Linked DNA regions of Homo sapiens: all the other regions are linked to region 1. Evidence: promoter capture Hi-C in 16 types of primary human blood cells and fetal thymus (Javierre and others, 2016). All regions are on one chromosome and are shown on one strand. Each heading gives the region's core, a stretch centred on a gene start or on the middle of the fragment in contact. The rest is flanking DNA. Distances are from core to core; before and after follow the strand shown.

The links. The method cuts DNA at HindIII sites, captures the fragments that hold promoters and counts their contacts. A CHiCAGO score of 5 or more calls a contact.
Region 2: a fragment that was not itself captured here is called in contact with the fragment with the promoter of TENM2-AS1 in region 1 in 4 of 17 cell types (total CD4 T cells, naive CD8 T cells, total B cells and 1 more); the score reaches 10.6 in total CD4 T cells.
Region 3: a fragment that was not itself captured here is called in contact with the fragment with the promoter of TENM2-AS1 in region 1 in 8 of 17 cell types (total B cells, naive CD8 T cells, non-activated CD4 T cells and 5 more); the score reaches 19.9 in total B cells.
Region 4: a fragment that was not itself captured here is called in contact with the fragment with the promoter of TENM2-AS1 in region 1 in 2 of 17 cell types (naive B cells and total B cells); the score reaches 9.5 in naive B cells.

What each region holds. Positions count from the first base shown.
Region 1 is chr5:168,230,732-168,234,922 of GRCh38, forward strand. TENM2-AS1 (TENM2 antisense RNA 1) reads right to left here and starts at 1,641. Exons shown (of 3, transcript NR_109894.1): 1 at 1,573-1,641; 2 at 155-325. The region is part of intron 27 of TENM2 (teneurin transmembrane protein 2); the gene reads left to right. The HindIII fragment of the contact is 3,214 bases long and covers 1-2,136 here.
Region 2 is chr5:163,548,757-163,552,947 of GRCh38, forward strand. No RefSeq gene overlaps it. Among named protein-coding and RNA genes, the nearest start is that of MAT2B, 45 kb to the left of the region's middle. The HindIII fragment of the contact is 1,654 bases long and covers 1,540-3,193 here.
Region 3 is chr5:163,567,806-163,571,996 of GRCh38, forward strand. No RefSeq gene overlaps it. Among named protein-coding and RNA genes, the nearest start is that of MAT2B, 64 kb to the left of the region's middle. The HindIII fragment of the contact is 4,431 bases long and covers 1-4,191 here.
Region 4 is chr5:164,018,633-164,022,823 of GRCh38, forward strand. No RefSeq gene overlaps it. Among named protein-coding and RNA genes, the nearest start is that of LINC03000, 280 kb to the right of the region's middle. The HindIII fragment of the contact is 1,706 bases long and covers 1,134-2,839 here.

The DNA.
Region 1 (4,191 bases), core at 391-2,890:
ACACTACAGTCAGTACCACGGAACAAGGAGACTCTAGAGAGATAAAGAAAACTGGGTGGCACCGACTAGCTAACGGTCTCATGGAGAAGACAATATTAGTAGTGTGATGTAAGCTATAATACAGGCCAAAAGCACAAAGAAAGGGATACTTAACTGTATCTGCTGGAAGAGGATAGGCCACGGCCAGGTAACAAATTAACCCTGAAATCTCATGGGCGTAACACATCGCAGTCCAAATGCATCGGGCGGCTCTTCTTAATGAGGACTTGCTCCAGTTGCTCTGTCTTGCGATCCTGCCATCTTAAGCACAGGCTCTGTGCAGTTGCTGCAGCAAGGGAAGAGAGTTTGGGTGATTCACGAGAGCTTAATAAGCAGGCCTGGATACGGCAGGCCTCACTTCCACCCACCCTGGTGAGAACACTATCAGGGAACCTCAACTGAACCACAGGGAAGCCTGGAAAATGTTGTCTTTTCTGAGTGCCTAAGAAGAAGAAGATGAACAAAGACTTGGTAAGCACGTAGCAGAGTGATCAGGTCTCCCGTTTGACAAGAGATCAGGAAGGGCTTCACAGAGGAGCTGGAATCATTTCTGTAGAGTAGTAAGAATCAGCCAGGCAGAGATAGGGAACAGAGGTGACAGGACAAAGAATGTCGCCAGTGGAAAGGCCAAGAGGCCAAAAAGGGAATGGCATTTCAGAAAACTAATTCAGTGTGGCAGTGGATGTGTTAGAGAGTAGGGTAGAAAAAGAAGATGCAGCCAGAGACTGCACATGGAAAAGAACATGGTGCCAGGCTAACATTTATCCTGAGGGCAATGGTGAGCCCTACCTGGACTTCATTAGCAGAGTGATGTGCTGGGATGTGTGGCATTAGAAAGCTCTCTCCAGCCTGGGCACAGTGGCTCATGCTTGTTTTCCCAACACTTTGGGAGGCCAAAGTGGGAGGATCATTTTCGCCTAGGGGTTCAAGACAAGACCAGCCTAGGCAATATAGCAAAACCGCAATATAGCAAAACCCTGTCTCTACAACAACAAACAACAACAACAACCAAAAAAAAAAAAAAAGTTTAAATAGCCGACCATGGCCTGGCACAGTAGCTCATGCCTATAATCCTAGCACTTTGGGAGGCCAAGGCAGGAGGATCCCTTGAGCCCAGGAGTTGGAGACCAGCCTGGGCAACATAGGGAGACCCTGTCATGGTGGCACATGCCTGTAGTCCCAGCTATTCGGGAGGCCAAGGCAGGAGGACTGCTTGAGCACAGGAGTTTGAGGCTGCAGTGAGTTCTGATCATGCCCTGTACTCCAGCCTGGGCAACAGAGCAAGACCCTGTCTCAAGAAAAGGAAAGAAAAGATCTCTCTGACTTCCTCAGGTATGGAGGAAGACAGATGAGAAGGGGACAAGATAGATGATAGGAGGAGAGGGACAGTAAGGAGGGTGCTGCATTAGTCCAAACAAGAAACTAAATCACTAGCAGCGAGGAAAGAAAGAAGGTAGGGGGAGAGATTTGAGAGATGTCTAGCACACGAGGACGAGGATTGGGCAACTAGCAGGGTTGCTGTGTCATGCTCACCTTTTGACAGGCTCTCCCCATGATCATGTAAACTGGGAAGGCTGGGTGGCCGTCCACGCTTTGTGGGCTCTGTAAAAGAGAGTGGCTGGGAGCTGAAACCCAAGCCAGAGATGTAAGATTCTGGTGGCCCCAGCCCTGCCTCTTGGAATGGAGAAGAAACTAAATGAACTTTGAAATGCAGCCACTTAACCAGCTCCATGTAATCACTGCTCCCCATGTGGAGAGCAGGGATTTGGAGAGAATGTGTGGGTATCATGCATGAAGCAAATAGCCTGAACGTCCCCGGGACTGGCAAGCTCCTGGGAGCCTGGTCAGCTGAGGGGTGTGAGGGCCCAAGGCTCTGAACATTCCTGGAGTTTAGAGAAGACCAACAATCTCAGTGAAGCCATCACAATAGAACAGTGCCCAGTGAAATTCCAACCCACCTAGGTACCCTTTCTTCCCACAATCCTCCAGACGGAGGCATCTCTTAGTGGAGGAAAGTATCAGTGGCTCTTCCTTACAGCCTGGGGAAATGTAAGATGATGGCGGATGGATAGACCGGGACCACATCCTTTCACCAAAAGCTTTGTAATGGAGTGTTAGTCCCTTCATTCCTGCCCAAACTCAGTGCAGGGAAGATTTTCATTATGCCTCCCAAGAACTCCTCAAAGAATCTCCTTTGAAAGAGTCCTCCCCCTCCTTCCCGCATTGTCCTCCATTCCTTTCTTCACTCACTCTGGCCTTGCAAAAACATGAAGCAGGCCGGGCGTGGTGTCTCACGCCTGTAATCCCAGCACTTTGGGAGGCCGAGGCGGGTGGATCACGAGGTCAGGAGATCAAGACCCTCCTGAACAAAATGGTGAAACCCCATCTCTACTAAAAATACAAAAATCAGCTGGGTGTGGTGGCGCATGCCTGTAATCCCAGCTACTCAGGAGGCTGAGGCAGGAGAATCGCTTGAACCAGGGAGTCGGAGGTTGCAGGGAGCCAAGATCGTGCCACTGCACTCCAGTCTGGCAGCAGAGTGAGACTCCCATCTCAAAAAAAAAAGAAGCAGTTACATCATGGCATCTGTGAGCTCCATAAGTGCAGGGACCAGGTCGCCCCTGTATCCCTGGTGACAAGTGCCATGTGGTGGGTACTCAGACAACAGGTGACAAAGAAAGATGTAATAACTGTGCCTTCTATAGGCGCCTTCTTAATGTGTAAATGCTCCCCCACCACAGTGGGTATAAATTCACAAATACATTGCCCCTACATCTGTCTGGAATCCTTCCACTGCAAGAGACAGGAAGTGCATTCAGACTAACTTAGAAGAGTAGGCGCTGTCTTACCTAACAGGGCCACCACAAGGGAGAAGCTGGCCTCAGAGACTCTAAGATGTCATTAAATGGTGTACTAGTCTGTTTTCACGCTGCTGATAAAGACATACCCAAGACTGGGAAGAAAAAGAAGTTTAATTGGACTTACTTACAGTTCCACATGGCTGGGGAGGCCTCAGAATCATGGCGGGAGGCAAAAGGCACTTCTTACTTGACGGCATCAAGAGAAAATGAGGAAGAAGCAAAAGCGGAAACTCCTGATAAACCCATCAGATCTCGTGATACTTATTCACTATCACTAGAATAGCACGGGAAAGATCGGCCCCCAGGATTCAATTACCTCCCCCTGGGTCCCTCCCAACACATGGGAATTCTAGGAGATACAATTCAAATCAAGATTTGGGTGGGGACACAGCCAAACCATATCAGATGGACGTCTCTCTTTCTGTTTCTCACAGCCCCCTTCCATCCCATGGCAGGGTTTCTCTCTCGGCAGTTGACCTAATTTTCTCCTACAGTAGACTAATGTCCTCTTCACATTGCGGGGGTGGGGGGTGGTCAGGCAGACTTAGCCAAAGTTGACTCCAGGCTTACATCATCACAGCTAAGTGAACCCAGAGGAAAAAGGAAGGTATCTCCCCCAGCATTTCTATTTTTCATAAAATATCTCATGGAAGAAAGATTGACCTGGCAGAGGGAGTTCACATTCCTGGGCAAATCACTGGTCAGGGAGCTGGGGATCTGTGATGAGTCAGGCAGGCACAGGTCACATGACCATACCTGTATCTTATAATAGACATCTCAGTAAAAGCACCTAGACAGGGAAGCCCTAGAAAAAAGAGGTGCCGTACCCAAAAAAGAAAGAAAGAGATACAAGGTTAAAATATAAATATCCCAAATATAGTCTACATCCTCCATCCCTCCGAAGCCTAATCATAAGGCGAAACTCCTGGCCCTGAGGATCTAAAACTCCTGGCCCTGAGGATCTCTTGAGGCTCTATTGCCTCCCACCCCAACAAGCCTTTTTTCTAGGCTTTTGGAAGAGAGAACTGAAATCAACCCCTTCTATTAAGATTTAAAACTTCTACCCTTTCCTAAAACGGATCTTGTGCAGGATGATTCTCTTTCTTTGTAAAGGAAAGCATATAACCACGCTCTAGGATATTTCTTCCTGATTGTGATTTACATAGAGATTGCAGAAGCAAGAAACAGCTACATGTGTAGGTAGCAGAACAAAAGAAAAATTGCTTCCAAGATAATCTTCCATCATGATATTGGTATTAGTGTTATTAGTATTCCAAGAAGAAGTGGGAGT
Region 2 (4,191 bases), core at 1,117-3,616, 4.7 Mb before region 1:
CGTTATATTACAAACGTTATAACTGTCAGCAAAATCTGGGTCACAGGCTGAGGTCACGCATGGTAGACCAAGGGGAGGAGCTTGAGGGCCCCTCTTCACCTTCAATACCTGCACGCATCTCCATCAGTCACTGATGGTCTTTCTGGTTTCCTCTTTTATCTACCACATGAAAAGACTATCTGATTATAATTTGATGCCTGATAATTTCTAAGTTAGGTGGAGAACATCAGGCTTCCTTTCTAAAGGAGTCATTTTGTTTACAATGGCACTGCCTTTGCCTTGGTGCTGATCGTTTTTGTGGTTTTTCTTTTGTTGTAATCTTATCCTTTCCTTTCCTTTTTTTTTTTTTTTAATCGATGAAGGGTTTATATCGGGACGGGCAGTGTTGAGTATTTAGTTTCTTTTTTCAAATTGAGCACAATGATATTTATTACGCATTTCTGGTTTCAAGCTAATCAATAAAGGAGGCCAGCAAAAGCCCGCCCTTCCGGAGGCTCGGGCTCACTGAATGTGTGTGGCAAAAGCTGGAATTTTATCTCTTAAGAAAAACGGATGGATCCCACTGCTATCTGACTGCTCTGTCAGACAACAGATGAAGAGAAACCCCTCCAAAAAGTTGTTATGGTTTCTCACTGGACTTTCAGATGTCTGTTCACAGATGAGCTTCTAATTAACCAGAAATCTGTCTCCCACGAGGTCAATAAAAATCTGACACCTTTTCAGAAGTACATTTTGGAGTGACTTTCTGGTCATTTTAGAGAGCATTAAAACATAAAAGCATTTCGCTTTCCAATGGAAGTTCTTTTCTATTAGTACCAAAGATGAAATCTCCATGATCCTTTATATGTTTCTAAGCAGCATAGCTAAACATCTCAAAGAATTTTCTCATTATTTTTCTGTAATTCAAACCTATGCAAGCTTAAAGGGAACAATAATGATACCTAGGATTGGCTTGTGTAGACCCAGATGGCTTTTGCATATTTTCATTACACATTTATTTAGTAATCAGAAGAAGTTATTTTGATTCTTATATAACCAGTTCCTCAGCCAGAGTAAAGTCAGAATAAAGTGAACTATCAGGCGTTATGAATATACCCATATTAGAGGAAAATATCCTTTCAGCCCTATCTTTATGGAAAAGGACTTAGGAAGTGCAAGTTCAAAACTTGGTAAGTCTGACCACTGTAGAATTTATTTCCTTAGTGTGGCATGTGTAAATTTTTTTGTGGGTTAAAAAAAAAAGATTGGATCAATTCTGAGGGATTTTATGTGTGGAGTCTTTCTGGAAGAGGTCTTTGTAAGTATAAAAATCTTTCTAGGTAATGTCCTTGAAATGGGTAAGGAGGGAAATGATAAACTGAGATGAGACCTTTCAGAAGTGCTAACAGATCCTCAGACCTGACCTGACCATCCATATTAAAACAGGACCGTGGTCTCCATTCAGGAGCTTTTTGATACCTTTTGATCTAGATATGTGAGATGTCTGGAGTCAAACCTGGAGGGTTTCCACAGGATAGTGTGGCTGTTTGGGTTCCCAGAAGCTTCCTTTAGCAGGTTAAGCAAGAAGTATATTCTTTAACAACCAAACCTCCTGTTCCTTAGCGTTAATCCCCAGCCACGTTAAACACATGTTTCCAAACTTTGTATTTAATGCATATCTAAAGACCAGTTTTGTCAAGGATTTACTCTGTCTTCCTTGTGCTCTTTGAGAAACTTAGGCAAGTCCACACATATTTTTTATAGCCTGCCTCACTCTTTACTATATATGTCAAATGTTTCAGCCTTCGTAAGGGAACAACTGTGCTCTCTCTGGATATAAATGTTACTGCTGTCAGTGAACTCAAGTCTATTTGTTCAGTTATGGAATTTTCTCTGAGGTTGCTCACACCTGTAATGCCAACATTTTGGGCAGCTGAGGCAGGAGGATCACTTGAGCCCAGGAGTTTGAGATCAGCCTGGCTAATATAGGGAGACCTTTTCTCTACAAAAATTAAAAGAATTAGTTGGAAATGGTGGCAGGAGGATCCCTTGAGCCAAGGCCAAGGAGGTTGAGGCTGCAGTGAGCTATGATTGTGCCACTGTGCTTTAGCCTAGGCAACAGAGACCTTGTCTCAAAAATAGAAAAAAAAAAAAAAGAAAAGAAAAAAAGAAAAAGAAAAAAAAGAAGGAAAAGAAAGAACTCTCTCTGGATGCCTAGAATTGAATATTTATGTCCAGTCAGTTATTGTTCCTTTAGCTTCCAGGTGAAACTAGTAGGGGCAGGAGATAAAAATTTAGTTTTTCCTAATAATAATAATAATAATAATAATAATAATAATAATCATCATCATCATCTCATGGATACTCATTGTAGAAAACAGGAAAAAAATTAAAAAGCAAATCACACACACGTCACACACACACACACACACACACACACACAAACTCATGATTTTATCATGCAGAAATAGTCATTATTAACATTTTGGCTTACTTTCCTCTGGTCTTTGTTTTAGTAATAATATCGATAGAGCATTTGCCGTGTACTGAGTACTTTGCACCCATTGAGAGATAGGTAGTGTTATCCTAAGTTCCTAGAAACCACTATGTCACATACAGACTAGAGGGCAATGTACATTATGTTCTTGCACATCTACACACCATAATCAACAGACACATATACAAACATGCATGCATATTGGGTTCCTGTGTATCGGTTTCTCTGTACCTTATTTTACTCAACATGCTGTCATAAACATTTAACCATGAAAATAGATAATCTTTGAACATACCTTTTGTTAAGGCATACTATTTCAAGCTGTGGATATATCACAATCTACTTAGTCACTTCCCAGTTGTTTGCTTTTTGGATTGTTGCTGCTGTTTTCAGCACACTTGTTTATTCTACCAAATCAGAACCAAAATATCTATTTTCTGAGGCTTGAATATTTCCAATAAGGGTTAAGCCCATTTTTTTGACTGCCTGCAAACTGTCTCTTATATGAGGTTACAAACATATTATAAATAAACAGACTTTGAATTTGAACACTTCTAGAAAGAGGAAAGGGGGATTAGAACAACTCTAAAGGGTTGAAAGCCCACCTTGGAATCCAGAGCCAAGTCACACCATAACCCTTTCTCCCTCTTGACACCTCCATTAATTCCATACACAAGTTTTTTCAGGCGTGGGTAACTTTATTTTGATAAAATTATAAGCTTTGAAAATACTTGTAGGATATTGCACTGTATTTATTTGTCATGTATCTTTATTCTTTAATCTGATCAGCTACTTTTCTATATCTTTCTTGGTATCAACATGAGGAGCATAGGCCATTATTTTGTAGAATGTCCTTCAGTTTGGGTTTCTCCAGTGCTTCCTCAAAATTAGATTCAGGTTATTCATTTTTGGCAGGAATACCAGTTGGTGTTTGCCCTTTCTGTGTATCGTATCTGGAGACTCATGCTATCCATTGGTTCCATTACTGCTGATGTTAACTTTGATCCCTTAGTTAAAGTTGAGGGTGTGTCTGCCAAGTTTCTCTACTGTAAAGTTATTATTTTGCCCTTTGTAATTGACAATTTGTCAGGCAGTGTTTGAGAATATGTATGTATCCTATTCCTCCTTGACCTTCTACCCACTAGTTTTAGCATCTCCTATTGCTTGGACAGCTGCAGAATGGTGATTTTCTAACTTCATGATTCATACCCATTTATTAGCTGCTGTTCTACTATAAGAAAAAGCTTTTCATTTTCCTTTATTTAACAAAATTCTGTCACCAAAGCCCTCATTCCTGGGACCTTCATTTAATCGCTCACCTATAAACATTTATTAATATTGGTATAGGCTCATGGATTCTTATTTTATTTGCTGGTTTATAATCCATTACTATCATTTTTTTTTTTTGATGCTCAAATTGTGCCCAGATTTGGCCAGTAGGAATCCACCAGGCTGGCTTCTGTGTTTTCTTGGCAGGTCCCCAACATGTTGTAAGTACTGCTACATGTTGTAAGTTCTTGTGGAGTTTACATTTTGGTAGAAAGTCAGAGAGGCCTTTGGTATAGTTCTATTTTTATTCATCATGCTTGGTATTTCATGAGCTCTTCCATCTGGAAACTTAAGTCCTTTTGTTCTGAAAAATATTAAAATAATTTTCAGTTTTCACTTGAATGGGCTTTCTAATTTTCTTATCTTCACTTTATTTTCATTTCTTT
Region 3 (4,191 bases), core at 776-3,275, 4.7 Mb before region 1:
CTTTTTTGTTTTCTTTTAAAATATTTCATGGGGCTACAATGCCATACTATGTGTTTTGGAGGATACAGCTCTCTTATAGTTATGGTGACTGAATTCCTAAGTAATGAGCCCAAGGCCAGACTTGAGGACTAATTCTATTCCTAGACAGGGTATGATGAGGGCATCAATTAGCCCTGATGATACTCTGCTGAGAATTCATTTTTTGCATCTAGAACTATGCTCTTTCCGGCTTGCCTAGTAACCAAAATCCTGTCTTATAAGGCATTCCAGTAAGTGCATTCCCACTTTGGGCTCCTGCACATTTTCTAATTCCTTTGGCCTGATTTGTCATTCCAAGGTCTGGCATCCTACCCAGACCCCAAACTGGACTCTGTATTGCTAGTTTCTCTTCATGGCATGGCTTACATTGCTACCTGTGTTCTCTCAATCTGCCTTTCCTGGTGGCCTGTCTCAGTATCCCAATCTTCATTATTGGCTCTATGCCTTTCTGACCCATCCTAGCTCTTTGTCAAGTATTTGGTCTGGTTTGGTTGTTGAAGACTTTAGGCTTTTGGGCCAAACAGTTCCAATTCCAGTTCCACGATCTGATAATTGTACACTCTGGAGTAAGTTACTTCACTTTGGACCTCAGCTTTCTCATCTATTAATAGAGGTAACTCCCTCATACAGTCCTTGTTGGGATTAAATGATAAACTGCAGGTGATATGCTGCTAATATCACGTGGCACAGAACAAGAGGGCAATAACTATCAGTCGTTATATTACCTAAGTCTCAAAGGCTTCTTCGATCAGTTTAGCCCACACTGAGCCCTCTGGTCTCTAAATATTTTGTGCTCGGTGTCTCATACTTAGCACTCAATGCTGTATGTGACTTAGTTACACTGTCCCAAGCTAGATTTGGAGTTATTTTTTTTTTTCAAAATTATGGATAATTTCATACATACTCATTAGTAGAGAGAATAGTAGCATGGATCCTCCTGCAGTTGTCATTGAATTGAGATTTTTGGGATAGCTCTTTTTTACCTTGCTCTACTGTTAAATGTATTATTGGTCCATACACAGGTGACAGGGAATTTGCCCTGACTGAGCAAGAGCTACCCACTGTGTGTGAGGCTTCATATAAAGAAGTACCTGCTCAGCCTCTCTTGGAATATGGGACCACCACAAAGTCTCTGTTTTTTTCTAAAGAATGGGGAGATGGAAGAATGGCACCCTCTCATATGGTTCCTGGAGAATCCACTTCACTTTCCAAAACTTTATTCTCCTGTCTCCTCTTGTCAGTTATTCAAGGCTTGAATTGTGTTCAATTCATTTTGTATCCTCAGCCCCTAACAGAACTTGGTGCAAAAAAATCTTTGAATGATTGTCTTTCCATTTTTGCTAAAGTTTTATTAGAACTGTTTTCTAGTATCAGAATTGAATCCCAGTTCTAGACCTAGAGCCTTAAGGCTGCAGACCTAAAGAAGACAGATCTCAGAGCTAAATCTCTCTCTTCTCTCTCTCTTTTTTGTACTGGATGATTGACATCTGAGGACACAGCATATTGACTTCTTTTAAGATGTTGAAACAAATAAAAACTATGTGCAGGAGGAAACATGATCCTACATTTATTTATGAGGCATCAGACAATGTCTCAGGAAACAGATGTTTTGTGCTGTAATTCCTCTTGATGGCACTGGAGCCTTAAATATCATCGCAAGTCCAGCCTTTCACATTCTAAATCCTATTATCTAGGTTAGCTCATCTGTATTCAAAAGATCAATGTTGCATTATTACAAAGATCCTTTCAAGTGTAAAAAGGATGGCACTTCATTACAGAAAGTAAAAGAAACTAATCAAACTTTCTTGGTGAAATCATTGACTTTTTAAAGTAAAGGGCAAATTTAAGAATTTGAAAGTCCGAGATGCGAGAGAACCCAGTGGTTTAGGCTCACCCTGGCATGTGCCTGGTTGTAGCATGTGGGTCTTGGGTAACCCAAAGAAGAAAGATTTCTTAAAAAGAGTATCAATGCTCCCAGCTGTTCTCATTTCTTCTGTCACCGCTTGGTTGTGTATCTTGGAAAAAAAATATACTTCTGGTGGGAAGACTCAAGGAGAGAATCTGTGCTGTGTGGTATACTGGCAATATTTGTACTGACCTGGTTAATATAAATTGTTAAGAAAACATTGGTAAATATTATTTATTCATAGTGTTAACTATTCTTTCAATAGGCAGTCCTTGTTTCTTTTCATTGCAGTTGGCATTCTCTGGGTTGTGTATTCACATACAGGATGTTTACTGGGGAGTACTTTTGGGATTGGCACCAGTGGAAGGGAGGGGAAGAAAACAGGATGCAGTAGAGGGAGAAGTGGAGTATGGTGCATGCCCAAGGATATATACACAAGGACGAGGAACTCTGGAGCTGGAATGGCCTTTCGAAACTCTCTTCCCTGAGGAGCAGACAGCCTGCCCAACAGTCATTGTGTTGTAAGTGGACCACCTTGGAGAAGGAGTTTGACTTTACCAAGGCATTGCTCTTTAGCTGGGGCAATCCCCAAAGAAAGATGGTAGCTAAGGACTATTTGCTAGCAGCACTCCTAGCAGCCTGGGTAAAATTCCTTTTATTTCTCAAAGAAGAATCTGGGAAGCACGTCACAGTCTCTACCACTCTTAATATCTTAAAAGAAAATGCTCATTGATCAGCTTCAGTGTAATAGGACTGTGGTAGGTACTGGGGCTTATCGTGGTGAATAAGAAACAGTCCTTGCCTTCAAGGTATTTATCATCAGCCTCTTCTTGCTAAGATTTGTTGATTATTACGATATTCCAGGCACAGTTCCAAAGAGTCTACTTGTATGAACTGTTGTAACGCACTAAGCCATATGAGATACTTAGAGCTCTTATCCTCATTTTATAGATGGAGAAACTGAGGCACATGGGGGAGAAATTTGGGGAAGGCTCTTTTCAGAGTCCTGATAGCCTGCTTCTATATTGCTTCCCAAATGTTGCCATTTCTGTAAGATCAAAACCATTCTTTGTATTCTGGTCACTTGTATCTGAGTTAACTATAAAATTTGCTTACTGACATATATTTAGCGTGGCTATTATGGTAAAGCTGCCCTGTCCAATAATAGTAGCCGCTAGTCACATAAATCCATAGAGCATTGAAAATGCAAACCGTCCAACTTGAGGTGCGTTCTTAAGTGTAAAACACACACAGGATTTCAAAGACGTACTGTGGAAAACAAAATGTACAACAGCTCATCATTTTTTTTTTTACATTGATTGCATGTTGAAACAATAATATTTTGGATATATTGAGTTAAATAAAAGTCTATTTTAAAAATTAATTTTAGCCTGTTTTCATGTTTTAATGTTGCCACTTGGAAATTTAAAATTACATACATGGCTTGCATTTGTGGCTTGCATTTTATTTCTATCAGACAACAGTGCTTTAGAGTACCTGAGATTTTTCCAAATGGGATGTATTTTGCTCTTAAATGCAGAGAAAGTCCTTATTTACTTTGGTATTGGGATCAGGTTCTTTTGATATGCTTCATTTAATTTGTATTTATTAATAAGGATTCTATTCATCGGATAGCCACTATGTGCTGGTTGTTTAGTGATTGTTGAAAACTAGTTAGAGGCAGGCTGAGTGAGATGAATTAAAGTTCTATTGTTGCAGGGGAACAAGGTCATCAACTTGAGATTAATCAACGGATTTTAAATCACCAGGAAGGGATATTTTACCCTCAGCTTTACAGTTTCAGCATGTAAATTGCTGTTTAGAGGAGAGCCTGTAAAATCAATCCAGCCTTTCTCCTTTCAGAAATTAAAAGCAATTTATTTTTGTTTTTGGCAAATCCTGGAAAGCCGTTCTACATCCAACTCCTTCTCCCTGACACCACCTGTGTTGCCTGTTTTTTAGGCCTTTGAATAGGGACGTGAGAAATTCAGTGGTTTTTGGGTCCCACAAGATTTGGAGGAAACCCCTCTGGTCCCTGTTGGGGAGTCCATCTGTCCCCACCTGGTACATTTTACTTCAAATGAGTCAGAAACTCCAAAGCTAAACTTGGCCAAAGTAGCACATGTCATGTGGACTCCACCCAGAGCCATATAAATCATCCCCGGATCACACCAAACTTGGCCTCCAAACTGGGCACAGATTTTTCAATCTGGTCCTAGAGTTTGCCAGAAGGCAGGAGGACCACA
Region 4 (4,191 bases), core at 737-3,236, 4.2 Mb before region 1:
GTGTCTGGTATAGTTGAGATGTTAGCTCTTTTACCAACTAGTTGTGCCTTTGGCTAATCTACATAACTTCTCTAAAACAGGAGTGATGATAGTACTTAAACTCATAGTGCGATGGTTGAAATTCAATGAGATAAGAGACATAAAGTACCTCCCCACAGGGCAGCCAGAGCTGTATTTTAAAACATAATCACATTATATCACTTACCTAGGCACACAAAGCCCTCAAAGATCTGAGTCTTGCCTGGCTGACCTCATCCATGACTTCTCTGCCCTTCATTCACTATCTTGCAGTCACTGACTTTTTTTTTTTCGTGTTTCTTGTACACACAAATTCATACCTACAGCAAAAACCTGATGCCGACTGTTTCCGCTGTCTGAATGCTCTTCTCTCAACTGTTAATAGAGGTCTTCCCTGACTATTTAACTAAAATACTGTCCCTGCCACCCCACAATCACCTTCTGTTCCGTTACCCTATATTATGTTCTTCACAACACCTTACACTATTTGAAATTGTCTCTTTGATTCTTTTTTAAAAATTTTCTGTCACCATCCCCCTTGTCTCAATGAGGATGTAAGTTCTGTGTGAGCTTGGACCTCATGTGGGACTTCAACTTGGCATTCCCCGTGTTTATAACAGCACCTGGTAGTAGGCACTCAATTAAAATGTATGGAATGGCCGAGTGAATGAGCACAAGGCCTGTGGTTCAATCGAAGTTGGCTCCTGTCTGTATCCCTGTTGGTAACACTGCGTACACCAGTGGGATGGGGACTTTGGGCCTTGTCAGGGTTGTTCAGTGGTTCTGCTCAGTGTGATTTCTCTCTGAGGTCCGGAGAGTTAAGGAGCCTTTTGTCTCAGGATTAGGGAACTATTTGCTTTTACTACCTGGAATTTGTACTGTCACAGTTGAGCATTTGAACTTTCATGCTATTCAAGTGCTGATGCGGGTATTTGAGATCTTAATAGCAAAAGTAAAAAGAATATGTCCATAGTTCATAAACAGACACCCTATGCTTCCATTTTGCTTTTATAGCACTTCATCACAGTGAAGAGTGGATTCAGTGATGCACGAAGTTTTTACATCATCTCCGACTTGCACCACTTACGAGCTTTAAAGTGACCCCCCGGCTTTAAAGCTTCCTGAAGCAAATTACCTATTGCCACCGATACTAAAATGGTACTTCTTCCTTAAATCCCAATAAATCCCCCAAATGTTATGCAAATTGAAAAATACCCCTGTCAAAAGACTGTCAGATAACACCTCTCTTTCCCAAAGACTATTTGTAAGCATAAAGAAACATCCAGAAAGAAGTAATAAATTGTTCTAGTAGGCTGTTCTGGCAGCCATTAATAAATCAATATGAAGGGGAGTTCTGAAGGGCAAAATGTTGCTGTCGGTGGGTGTCCGATTTAATTTTGCTCTAAATTAATATTTTGAATATGATAAGTGAGCTGGCAGGAACAGATTTCGTGATTAATTCTATGGAGTCAAAAATGCTTTGATGGCACTTTAATAGCTGCTCCACTGATCTAAAAGTGCCTGAAACGGGCTCACGTGGGCATGCTCACAAATTGCATGATAATGTGGATCCCACCCAAGGAGGAGATTTACTTTTTATTTTCAAATCTCTGGCATACCTTGGGATAGACGTGTTTCATCACGCAAGTGGAGACATTTTTATAGCATTGTGAGCCATGGCTGAATGATACATGTGGTACGAGTGAGCAGAAAGTGCCGTTAAAACTCGCCTGTAAGTCCTGCCTCCCAGAAGCCATTGTAAATCAGCTTACAATGAAATCATTGCTCCTTTGAGAATGAGAGTTCCTAGAATGAAAAAAATATGTATTTCTTTTTTATTATTATTATACTTTAAGTTTTAGGGTACATGTGCACAATGTGCAGGTTAGTTACATATGTATACATGTGCAATGCTGGTGCGCTGCACCCACTAACTCGTCCTCTAGCATTAGGTATATCTCCCAGTGCTATCCCTCCCCCCTCCCCCCACCCCACAACAGTTAGGGATCTAGAACTAGATATACCATTTGACCCAGCCATCTCATTACTGGGTATATAGCCAAGGGACTATAAATCATGCTGCTATAAAAAATATATATTTCAAAAAGGCCAGAAAAATAGATATAACCTGAGCTCATGAATGAGAAACAAGAATGAAGCCCACATGTTTACTTTGGGGTCAACTCTGCCTTTAAGTTGCTGCTAGCGTGATAGGCTTCCATTATGTGAACTGGGAGGCTCCCGCTGAATTATGGCATTTATTAGCAGTGTATTGAGTGCGTCAGGTATTTTGTTAAATGTTGAGACATTAAGGAAAAAGGCGACAGACTGCCTACACTTATAGAGCTTATAGTCCTCCTTGTGAGGCAAATATTAGCTGAAGGCAGAAGAAGGGCTGAATAGAGGATTGAACAAAGGGTCTTAGGGCCATATGAGAAGACAGAATAAGCTCTGTCCAGGGACTTCTATGTTTCATCTCTTTCTTAAAGTATAGGATTTTGATGGGGGTACACAGATATTTTAAGCTGAGAAAATAAAGGGGAAAAGCCTAAAGGTACACATCCTTGGGCAGTGAAAAGTTAGTTATGGGTCCTAAGGGAGGTAGGATCATGATATACACTTTAGGAAGATTACTGTGGAAACTACGTTTATGTTGTGGATTATATTAGAGAAATATGCATGTCATCGTTAAGCCAGATTTCTGGCTACAACAAGTCATCAAAGGTCCCCTTACTCAGCACATCTCCTACAGCCAGTTTGTGGGGGAAGCCAAAAAGTTTCAGCTAAATTGCATTTTATGGGCCTGCAGGACATTAAAAGAAGCTTACAATTCATTAGACATGTGGATCTATGGATGTGAGGCTCAGAGATCTTGATTGTAGACATAGATTGGGGATCACAAATTTGAATGAGATCATGCAAGTAGAGTGGGTAGAGTGAAAAGAGAAGAGGTCTTAGGTCCAAATCTTGATGAACATCAACAATTAGAGATGAATGGGAGAAGAAAGAAGGCTTTATGAGAATTTGTTAAGTCTCTTCCATGTGAATGAGTAAAAATAATACGAGAGAAATGAGAAATCAATTACTTCACTTAGATTGTTTTGAATACAGGCTGAACATTTGAAGTTGGAGGTATACTAATTGGTCATTCAGATCTCACCAATGCCAAAGCAAACACAAAGGAAAAGCATTCCTGTGTTCTCTGTTCTTGCTAGAAGCCTATGTGATTTTTAAGTTATATGTGGTTGGGTAAATGTTTGGGCAAAAGCAGTCCTATGACATCTTTTTCTATAGGGAAGAAAAACAAAACTAAGCTTTAATTAGGTCCCTCACACTTACTTTTCTTTCAATCTGCTGACTTACGCTACTTTCTTCTTTTTGTTGCCTTTGCTGTTTCAAAGTACACATCAGCGATGCTTAGGATTATTTACTATGCATTGGCATTATACTTTTGCTATTAATATTCATTAGAACCCTGGAAAATTGATTAGTTAATTAAGTGCAAAAGACTTGCCTGAGAAGCTGTTCATTTATTCTTATGTTTAATATGCTTCATATACATAGTATCATTCACTCATTTTTTTCAGTCTCCTTCAAAGACTTCCCAACAAATTATTACTCAACAAGCACACATATTATTTTGTTTGTTTGTTTCACTGGCACTCTAAGCTGTCTAGTAGCAAATCTAATATCTGTGTTTGTAGACTAATGGGTAAGGGAAATAACCATACTCTTATGAGCGAGTCTTTTTGTTCACTTTAGATTCAGCAAAACTGAAGTTTAAAGATAAAAACTGTTTTGAGGATTAAATATTCATTCAACTTTGTCCTGCCCATTGATAATTATCTGGGATGCAGGTAACGTAGGGCATATTTTTACTCTTTAAAGTCACTATGATGATTAAAATTCTTCCATTGAAGATGAATAAATTCAAATGTTGGACTCAAGATGCCAAGCCCAGCCACCTCTATTTGGCCACTGGCCATGCAGAACCCTGGTGTCTTCAGTTTTCCAGAATTATACTTGGAGGCCCTGGCTTTTCCTGGAAAGGGCCATAAGAGACTCAAGTGTCAAACCAGAATTGTTAATTTATGATTTTGCCTGGAGAAATAAGATTGTCAGGAGGTCCAGATTACCTTCTGACTTAGAACATTCTCTCTCTCTAAGCCTTGA